Regions from separate parts of the Homo sapiens genome. Here region 2 is linked to region 1. Evidence: promoter capture Hi-C in 16 types of primary human blood cells and fetal thymus (Javierre and others, 2016). All regions are on one chromosome and are shown on one strand. The core of a region is centred on a gene start or on the middle of the fragment in contact, and the rest is flanking DNA. Distances in the headings are between cores, read along the strand shown.

Region 1 (4,748 bases), core at 265-2,764:
CTGTACAGGAGGCATGGCTGGTGAGGCCTCAGGAAACTTACAATCAGGGCAAAGGGGAAGCAAGCACGTTTTCACATGGTAGCAAGAGGGAGAGAGAGCTAAGGGGGAAGGACACACACTTTTTTTACCATCAGACCTTGTGAGAACTCACTCACTATCACGAGAACAGCAAGGGGGAAATCTGCCCCCATGATCCAATCGCCTCCCACCAAGTCCCTCCCCCAACATTGGGAATTATAATTCAAAATGAGATTTGGGTGGGGACACAGAGCCAAACCATATCAAAGTATACAGCTAATATTTATAATTGTTATTTGAGTTTATCTTTTTCATTTTTATATTTTTTCCATTCATTCTGCAATTCCCTAACTTTGTGTCATGTATACAGTCAGCTTGAGAGGTGGGGGGGAGAGAAAAATGTATAAAGTAAGAGCTCCACAAAGAAATCCCTACTTCCTGTGGAATACAATTCGAAGTCCTTTGCAAGCAGATTGGACATTCTAAATCCAAGGGAGGCAATAAAGTTTTATTTTAATTTGTATTTATTGATGTATTTTTTTTTGAGTCGCAACCTCACTCTATTGCCCAGATTGGAGTGCAGTGGTGCGATCTTGGCTCACTGCAACCTCTGCCTCCCGGGTTCAAGTGATTCTCCTGCCTCAGCCTCCCGAGTAGCTGGGACTACAGGAGCCCGCCACCACGCCCAGCTAATTTTTGCATTTTTAGTAGAGACGGGGTTTCACCATACTGGCGAGGCTGGTCTAGAACTCCTGACCTTGTGATCCGCCCGTCTCGGCCTCCCAGAGTGGTGGGATTACAGGCGTGAGCCACCGCGCCCGGCCAAGTTTTATTTTTTTAAAGCACTCAAGAAGTTAGGTTTGTTTCTAGAAACGTGGAAGCATCCGTCTGCTTCCTTCCAGCGTCCCTTTGCTTCCTTCCAGCCTCCCAAGGAGCCCAATTCCTTAATTTTCCCTACAGAGAATAGCACCAGGTCCAAAGCAGCCTGAATCAAAGCTCCTCCTTTGGTAATTGACAGCTGAGGGAAATCCTACTGAGGCCCACCCCCACCCTCCTCCTTGCTAGGCTGACAGGCAAAACTCGGTGGCAGTGGCTTCCAGCTCAGCCAATAGACGAAGCGGGAGCAAGAGCCTGTGTAAACAAACCCAGAGTGCGGCGCCTTGGTCTCCTCCCCCACGAGTGGGCCGGGCGCATCCTTGGCCCAATGCCTATCCCAGGCTAGCGTAGCGTCCTTTCAGCCAATCAGAGCCGGCATCTCCCTCAAGGAGGTGTTCCACCACAGGAAAAAAAAAATGAAGGAAGAGAAAAGACAGACATTAAAACCAATCAGAAGCTGAAACTTCTGAGGGAGTGGGCGGGCACTGCTTCACATTTAGACCAATAAAAACCACATATGCCATTCTAGGTGACCGAACGGCATCTTCTTTGGCCCAATAGACGAATGGGGCGGTGCCCGGCAACCAATGGCTTGGGTTCGGGGGCGGGGCGAGGAGGCAGTGTGCAGTAAGAGATAACCTGGCAAGTGGTAGTGGCGCTTCTCGGGTGCTGTGCTTCACGTTTTGGTACTAAAGGCCGAGACTGTTGTGGCGACGGCGACCTCTACGGCAACGGCTTAAGCTCTCGGAGGAGTGGCAGAGTACGATCTGAAGGAGGGGCTTCTGGTTAGCCCAGGTGGGCTCGGGTGCCCGGGCTGCTGGGGAAAGGACTCGAGGGAAACGCCGTTCTCCCGGCTCTGGGGGCGCCCTGCGCCTCCCTTTCTGCCGCCGTCGGGGCTGTGAAGGGCGGCACGCGCCTGCCCGAGCTCCTGTAGGGAGGGAAAGCGCGCGGGGTCCCACGTCGCGGCCATCGGCGAAAAGGGGCGTCCGCTGGGGTCAGCCCCTGCCCCTCGGGAGCAATAGGGGGTTTTCGTCCCTTTCCCCCCCGCACAGGTGCTCTGTTTCCCCCCGACTCCCACCCAAGTTCCTGACTCCCCTCAGCGTCCTCCTAACACTCGAACCGAATTCTTGGCCTGAGTCCCATTTCTACCCAGGTGCAACAATGCTAGGCAAATTGACCCGCGCGGCATCCCCCGCCCCTCTCCCCGGGCTGGAGCGGGAGGGATTGCGCGTCGTGCCCTTCCCCTATTCGCGGCCCCTGCGCGTCCTCTGCCTTTTTATACTTGCTCCATCTCCCCCTTGACTCCAGCCCTCATTCTTCATGCCTCATTTGCCTGGGAGACGTTCGCCACTTCTCTTGTGCCTTGCGGTCCGTGAGTGAGCCCATCACCCCCTACCAACCCCTAAATTCCATTCTCATCTCTCCAGAAAACTAACATTTTCCACTTGCCTCTTCCAGGCAGCTGGAAGGTGAACTGAGAGAGGCAGAATACGCAGAACAGGGAGTTTGGCAAGGTTGGGAACTTTAATGTTTTGTTCCTGGTAGACTGTTTTTGCCTTCAAATGGCATTTGACCATTATACCCGCTCTAGAATCTTTGTCCTAATGCAGTTCTTTTGGTGGTAATTGCTGAAAATGCAGTTGAAAAGGGCTAACTAGAAGCAAGGGATTTAAATTTTGTTACTATTATTTTCAGTAAATTGAATTGGATTATACTTTAAACAGCTTAACTGGGGTTTCTGGGAGTTTGTAGTGTAAGGGCCTGGCTACCCTACTTTGTCATAAAATATAGAACATACTTAGTTGTACAGCACAGTGTGATTCGATCACACCCAACCTATGAAGGGATAATAACAGCATTGAATCTGTCCAAAAACAACATTCCCTGTTCCCTTTTCACCTTCATAGTATATTCGTTTGGTTTCTAGTAATGTCGGTTCTAGCCATATGTTTTTTGATAACAGTACAAACTATGCTGTGCCTAAGTAAAATTATGCCAACAATTTTATGGGGAAAAGCTAATGCACTGCTCTTAGCTTTGATTAAGATTTTAGACGTTTGAAAATATAAATTCAGATATTGGACAGTGAGGGTTTTATTTTGAAGGTTGGAGGAGATTGAAGTGTTGGGGTAAGACTGATAGGCTCCTCTGGCTACTTGTATATCGGGGTGGGGAGAATATACAGGTTTACAAAATCTTGTAAATTCTCACAGTGCTTAGTTTCCTGACTTTTCAAAAATTGGAATTGTTTTTCCTAGCTTTCAGTGGAGAAATGTAAGCTATGAGTTTAACATCATGTTCACTGTGTTTTGGCCAGGATTTTGCAAGCTTTTGTGGAAAAAATTATATTGCTTTCTTTATCCTGTTTGTAATGTATGTATCAGTATGCTTCCTTGTATTTTACTGTGGTAAAATTGTATCTTGTATATAAAGAAAAAAGTCTATTATAGTGAATTAAAAGAAATCTTTACTCTGAGGTGGCAGCCTTGTCTAATGGACCATATGTTTAAGCCTTGTTAATAAATCACACTAGAGCCTAGCACAGTGGTGTGTGCCTGTAATCCCAGCCACTTAGGAGGCTGAGGCAGGAGGATTGCTTGAACCTAGGAGTTTAAGACAAGCCTGGGCAACATAGTGAGACCCCATCTCAGTCAATCAACCAATCAATCAATTACACTAAAAAGAGTAAGATCTTAAAACTGTTCCAACAAATGTCTGGGTGTCTAAAACAAGGAAAAGAGTTTATGACAGAGTTACAGCAGTCATCAGAGAAAAATCCTGGACAAATTGCAAATCTGTAACAGTTGTGAATTGCTGTGACTGCAGCTGAAAACCAAAGTTATTTTTGTGCAGTCTTTTTTGGGAGTATTTGTGTTTAATAATAACTTGTTTGCAAATTTAGAGGACTCTAGCTATGATTTCTTCTTAGAGACCTTGAGGAGCTCACAGTTTAATGGAAGAGAGAACTAGAAACCAATAATTAAATGCAGAGAGTGAGGTTCTGCAGTAGAAGGTATATACAGGGTGCAGAGAAGCACGATGGCACTGTGTTCTGATCTCATCTCCTACTGCTCTAGACTTCCTGAAGTGCCATTTCCTGAACCTACCTGTTTTTTTCCACCATCTGGACCTCTCTCTGTATGCACCATTCTCTCTCCTTGCAAGCCTTTTCCACACCTTATGTGCTTGGTGAAATTCTGTTTCTTCAAAATCTTGAAGCCTGCCTCTGCCTCATCCAAATGTTTTGCCTACTTCTCTGTTATTTCTTTATAAATAATTATAGTCAATTCTCATTATTTGCAGTAGTTATATTCTATAAAGTTGCCAAGAACACTGAATTATCAAATATTCAACCCTTGTTCCCAGGGAAAATATATACATATATACATATCTCACACAGATTACAAAATTAATTCCTAAAAACAACTCATCCTGGTAGATTGAATTTTCCTTACTTACAAAAAATAAAGGAAGTACAGAAGTGTTAAGCGATTTGCCTGAGGCCTCTCTACTAACAGGTGCCAGAGTTAAGATTCAGACTCGTCCAGATGGCCCCAGAGCCAGAGCTTCTTGCACTACGCTGCACTGCCCTCTGCTGTCTCTGTCCTCTGGTCATCTTTGTATGAGGGCTGAGACAAGGCTGAGGGTCACCTTGGGACTTGGGCAAGGAGTGACATATTTTTCACTACTATGTGTATATCCATAAGTCACCTTGAAAGCTCCACAAGTATTTGGGGATTACAAAGACATTTTAGCAAGTAAGCAAATTTGCAAATATGGGATCCACAAATAATGAAGATGAACTGTATTTGTAAGTGACTGCTAGGGTCTGTTTCATGGTAACCCCTTTCCCC
Region 2 (4,116 bases), core at 37-2,536, 280 kb before region 1:
GCCTCAGTTTCCTCATCTATAAAATTGGGGTTAGTCATAGCAATAGCACCTTCCTCACAGGTCAAATGTGGAGCAAATTAGTTGATGTAGCACGTAGTGGACTTCTGCAAATGAATCAGGGATCCAACCTCACCTGCAGGATTTTTCCCACTATCCACTTGGCCTGTCTTCAGGAAAATGTCCCTTTGGCCACTCTGCTCAGTCAATGGCTTGCCCCTACTTCTCCAGGGACAACTCAGCTTTGCTCTGCTTTGCTCAGGCTGCAGCTAGCACTGAGAGGGTCTCAGTGTGCTGCCAGGCTTGCAGAGCCCTCTTCCTTCCTGCCCCCCAGCACATCCTCAGCTGCCCCGGCTTGCACCGGCCAGAGAGGAGAGGGACTGGTGACATCCCTCACAGGCGAGGTCGGGTTGCCCATGCGCCCACCCCACCCCAACCCTCACCCTGAACCTGGGAACGGCACAACCTCAGCAGGATCTGCAGCCTGGCTGCTCCCGGGCCTGCCTGAGCCCTGTCCCGGCTCCACAGGTCCAGCAAGCCTCCTGGGGCAGCCAGTCTCTCAAATTAGTGCAACGGATACTCTAAGAAAGTTTGGGAAGCACAGAAAGCTTAAAGAGGAAAAATAAGGCAAAAGAAAACCAATTGTCCATAATTCCGTGACTCCACATTCCAGTTCTCTCCAATCTTTCAAACAAATAGTAGACAGATCTGCTGTATGCAAAATGATTTTCTTTTACTGAATGTCAGGCAATAAGCTCTCCCCAGGTTTTGACAAACCCTTTATAAACACAATTTTTCCTGAGGCATAATGTCCCTCTGAGTGGCTCTGGCACAGTTCACTGGACCTTTCTGCTGAATGATGTTAGGGACGTCCAGGGACTCACAGAGCAAACTCAGTCCCAAGAGAGAAGGGCCTGAAGGCTCCCGACATACTCAGCTCTTGAGCTTGAACTCTCCAGACTGGGGCCTGGGGACAGCCACACTAAGGAGAGCAGCACTGGTGGAAAGCAGGGCTCAGAACACTGAGGAAGGAGACAAGAGCTAGCTCAGCATCCCAGGAGACCCAGGAGGAGGTCAACAAAGGCAACTGAGACCCTTGAATTCCCTCACCCAAGGAATGAACATAACCTGCCCTGTGGGTTCCTGAATCACCACCAGGTGTCGCCACGTGAGCAGCCAGTCCCTTCAGCTCCTGCAACCCGTGGAGGGGAAAAGAAGAAAGTCCTCCCCTCCGCCCAGATGCCACACCTGACTCCTAGAGATGCCAGTTCAGTAGGTCTAGGGTGGGCCTGGGTATTTGCACTTTTAACAACTGTCCTGGGACTTTCTTCCACTTCAGCAAAAGGTAAGTTGGGCTCTTTGGAGAAATAACTACTTCCAGGGCTAGGGCAGGGAAGATACAAGATGAGCCTGGACCATCTTCTTGCACCAGAAAGGAAGGAAATGCTCAATGAATGACTGATTCTTAAAAACACATCAAAAGAGCCTGGGCGAGGTGGTTCATGCCTGTAATCCCTTTGGGAGGCCGAGCCAGGCGGATCTCTTGAGGTCAGGAGTTTGAGACCAGCCTGGCCAACATGGTGAAACCCCATCTCTACTAAAAATACAAACATATTAGCCAGGCGTGGTGGCATGCACCTGTAATCCCTGCTACTCAGGAGGCTGAGGCAGGAGAATCGCTTGAACCTTGGCGGCAGAGGTCGCAATGAGTCGATCACACCACTGCACTCCAGCCTGGGTTACAGAGCAAGACTCTGCCTCAAAAACATAAAATAAAATAATAAATAAATAATAAAAAGTAAAAACATGTCAAAAGGACACAGAAGCCAACTTTCAAGAGCTCCCACAGGCCAAATCTGAGACAATAGAAACATGAAAATACATAATAACAGTAACAGATTAAACAATTGAATAAAATAGAAATACCCAAATCCATACCACAGTAAATAAATAGGAGAGGAGAAAGCTTTTCCTGACCACGAAATGCCAACTGACTAATGCAGGAAAAATAACTGAGAATATCACTATTTAGCAATCATCAAAGCAATAATGAATTCAACCAAGAAACAGCAGTGATATTAAAACTCCTGGGTACGGCCAGGTACAGTGGCTCACAACTATAATCCCAGCACTTTGGGAGGCTGAGACAGGAGGATTTCTTGAGCCCAGAGTTCAAAACCAGCCTGGACAACATAGTGAGACCCTCATCTTTACAAAAAACAAAAAATTAGCCAGGCATGGTGGCCCACGCTTATAGTTCCAGCTACTCAGGAGGCTGAGGTGGGAGAATCACTTGAGCCTGGGAGGTCAAGGCTGCAGTGAGCCATGATTACACCACTGCATTCCAGCTGGGCAACAGAATGAGACCAGTCTCAAAACAAAAACAAAAACACTTCATGACGGCTGGGCACAGTGGCTCACGCCTGTAATCCCAGCACTTTGGGAGGCCGAGGTGGGTGAATCACCTGAGGTCAGGGGTTCAAGACCAGCCTGGCCAACATGGTAAAACCCCCCATCTCTATAAAAATACAAAAAAAATAGCCAGGTGTGGTGGCATGCCCCTGTAATCCCAGCTACTTGGGAGGCTGAGGTGGGAGGATTGGTTGAACCCGGGAGGCGGAGGCTGCAGTGAGCCAGGATCGTGCCACTGCACTCCAGCCTGGGCAGCAGAGTGACATACCGTCTCAAAAAAAGTAAAAATACAAATACAAAACAACAGCTCATAGAACTCACGGGTAAAGGTTAGATGACAAAGAGGATATTACAAAGTCACAAAATTCTGACATGAGAAAGGGGAGTAGATGAACGATTAGCGGGGACACCCAGCAAATGCTAGTGTAATCAAATGATCACAGTTAACAGTGTGGTAACCAAACGAATCACAATCATCCCACCTGATAGGGCACAAAGACAGCCACGCAGCATCAGTGTTACACTCACACCCAAGACACACAGCCTAAATCTAAACACAGGAAACATCAGACAAAACCAATGTGGGGGACATTCTACAAATAATTGGCCGGAATTTCAAAAAAATATCCAGCTACAAGGTTATAAAAGTCAAAGAAAGACTGAGGAATTATTCCAAATGGAAGGAAACTGAAGAAACAAAACAACTAGGTGCAACACATGAGCCTTAGTGGGATCCTTCTGCTACAAAGGACACTGGGAAAAATGGATGAGCCGCGACTGGGGTCTGGGGATTAGACGAGAGTGCTGTGTCCATGTTAATTTCATCGTTTGGAAGGCTGTGTTGTGGTTATGTAGGAGAAAGTCCTTAACTGGAGAACACACACTCGAGTTCAGAATGATGGGCCAGGAGGTTGGCACCCTCATGTCAAATGGCTTAGGACAAAATACTCTTTGTACCATACTTGGCAACTTTTGTCTAGATCTTAAATATTTCCAAATAAAAGGTTTTGAAAATCTGCTTCTTTTTAGGAATAGCCACAGGAATCTCCTTAGGCAGAGACAAATAAAGCCCCCTGCCCATCCATGCTGACTCCGGCCCTCCAAGATTAGCATGAGGTCAGGACCAGCTGCATAATGTGCAAGCCCAGCACAAATGAAAATGCAGAGCCCCTTATTCCAAAATCAAAAACTAGTTGGGCGTGGTAGCCATGCTTGTAGTCCCAGCTATTCAGGAGGCTGAGGCGAGAGGATCACTTGAGCCTACTTGAGCCCCGGAGGTCAAGGATGCAGTGAGCTTTAAGAATTTCAAGATGGAAACAGAAGAGAATTAAGCCAAGCATGAGGCCCTTGTGAGCGCAGGGCTCCGTGCAGTGGCCCCAGAGGCCAGGCCTGTGGGGGGTGTTTGTTTGACTTGGCCTGAGTTGGGCCCACATCTGAAAGATGAACACTGAGGGCCCTGCCTGACATGTCTGGCCTGACCCATTCATTCATTAACTCACATATTCATTCCCTCTACGTGTGTGTGTGTGCGCGCACACGTGCCTGTGTGTTGGGCACCTGCCAGGGCCAAACACACTGTTCAAGATTCTGGGGACGCTTCCATAAATAAGGCAAAGGTCCCTGCCCCCATGGAGCTGATGTCTTGGCAGAGAAGACAGACAATAAATAATAAACAAAATAAATACATAAAGAAGAGAGTATGTTAGA

The links. Contacts are between HindIII fragments. The CHiCAGO score rates a contact against its expected background, and 5 or more counts as called.
Region 2: a contact is called between a fragment that was not itself captured here and the fragment with the promoter of PAIP2B in region 1, in 4 of 17 cell types (total B cells, erythroblasts, naive B cells and 1 more). The highest score is 10.2, in total B cells.

Annotation. Positions count from the first base shown.
Region 1 is chr2:71,223,869-71,228,616 of GRCh38, reverse strand. It overlaps PAIP2B (poly(A) binding protein interacting protein 2B), which reads left to right and starts at 1,514. Exons shown (of 4, transcript NM_020459.1): 1 at 1,514-1,689. RefSeq lists enhancers at 1,229-1,368, 1,584-2,084. The HindIII fragment of the contact is 3,788 bases long and covers 1-3,224 here.
Region 2 is chr2:71,507,438-71,511,553 of GRCh38, reverse strand. All of the region lies in intron 4 of DYSF (dysferlin), which reads right to left. Among named protein-coding and RNA genes, the nearest start is that of DYSF, 43 kb to the right of the region's middle. RefSeq lists an enhancer at 4,000-4,116. The HindIII fragment of the contact is 1,358 bases long and covers 608-1,965 here.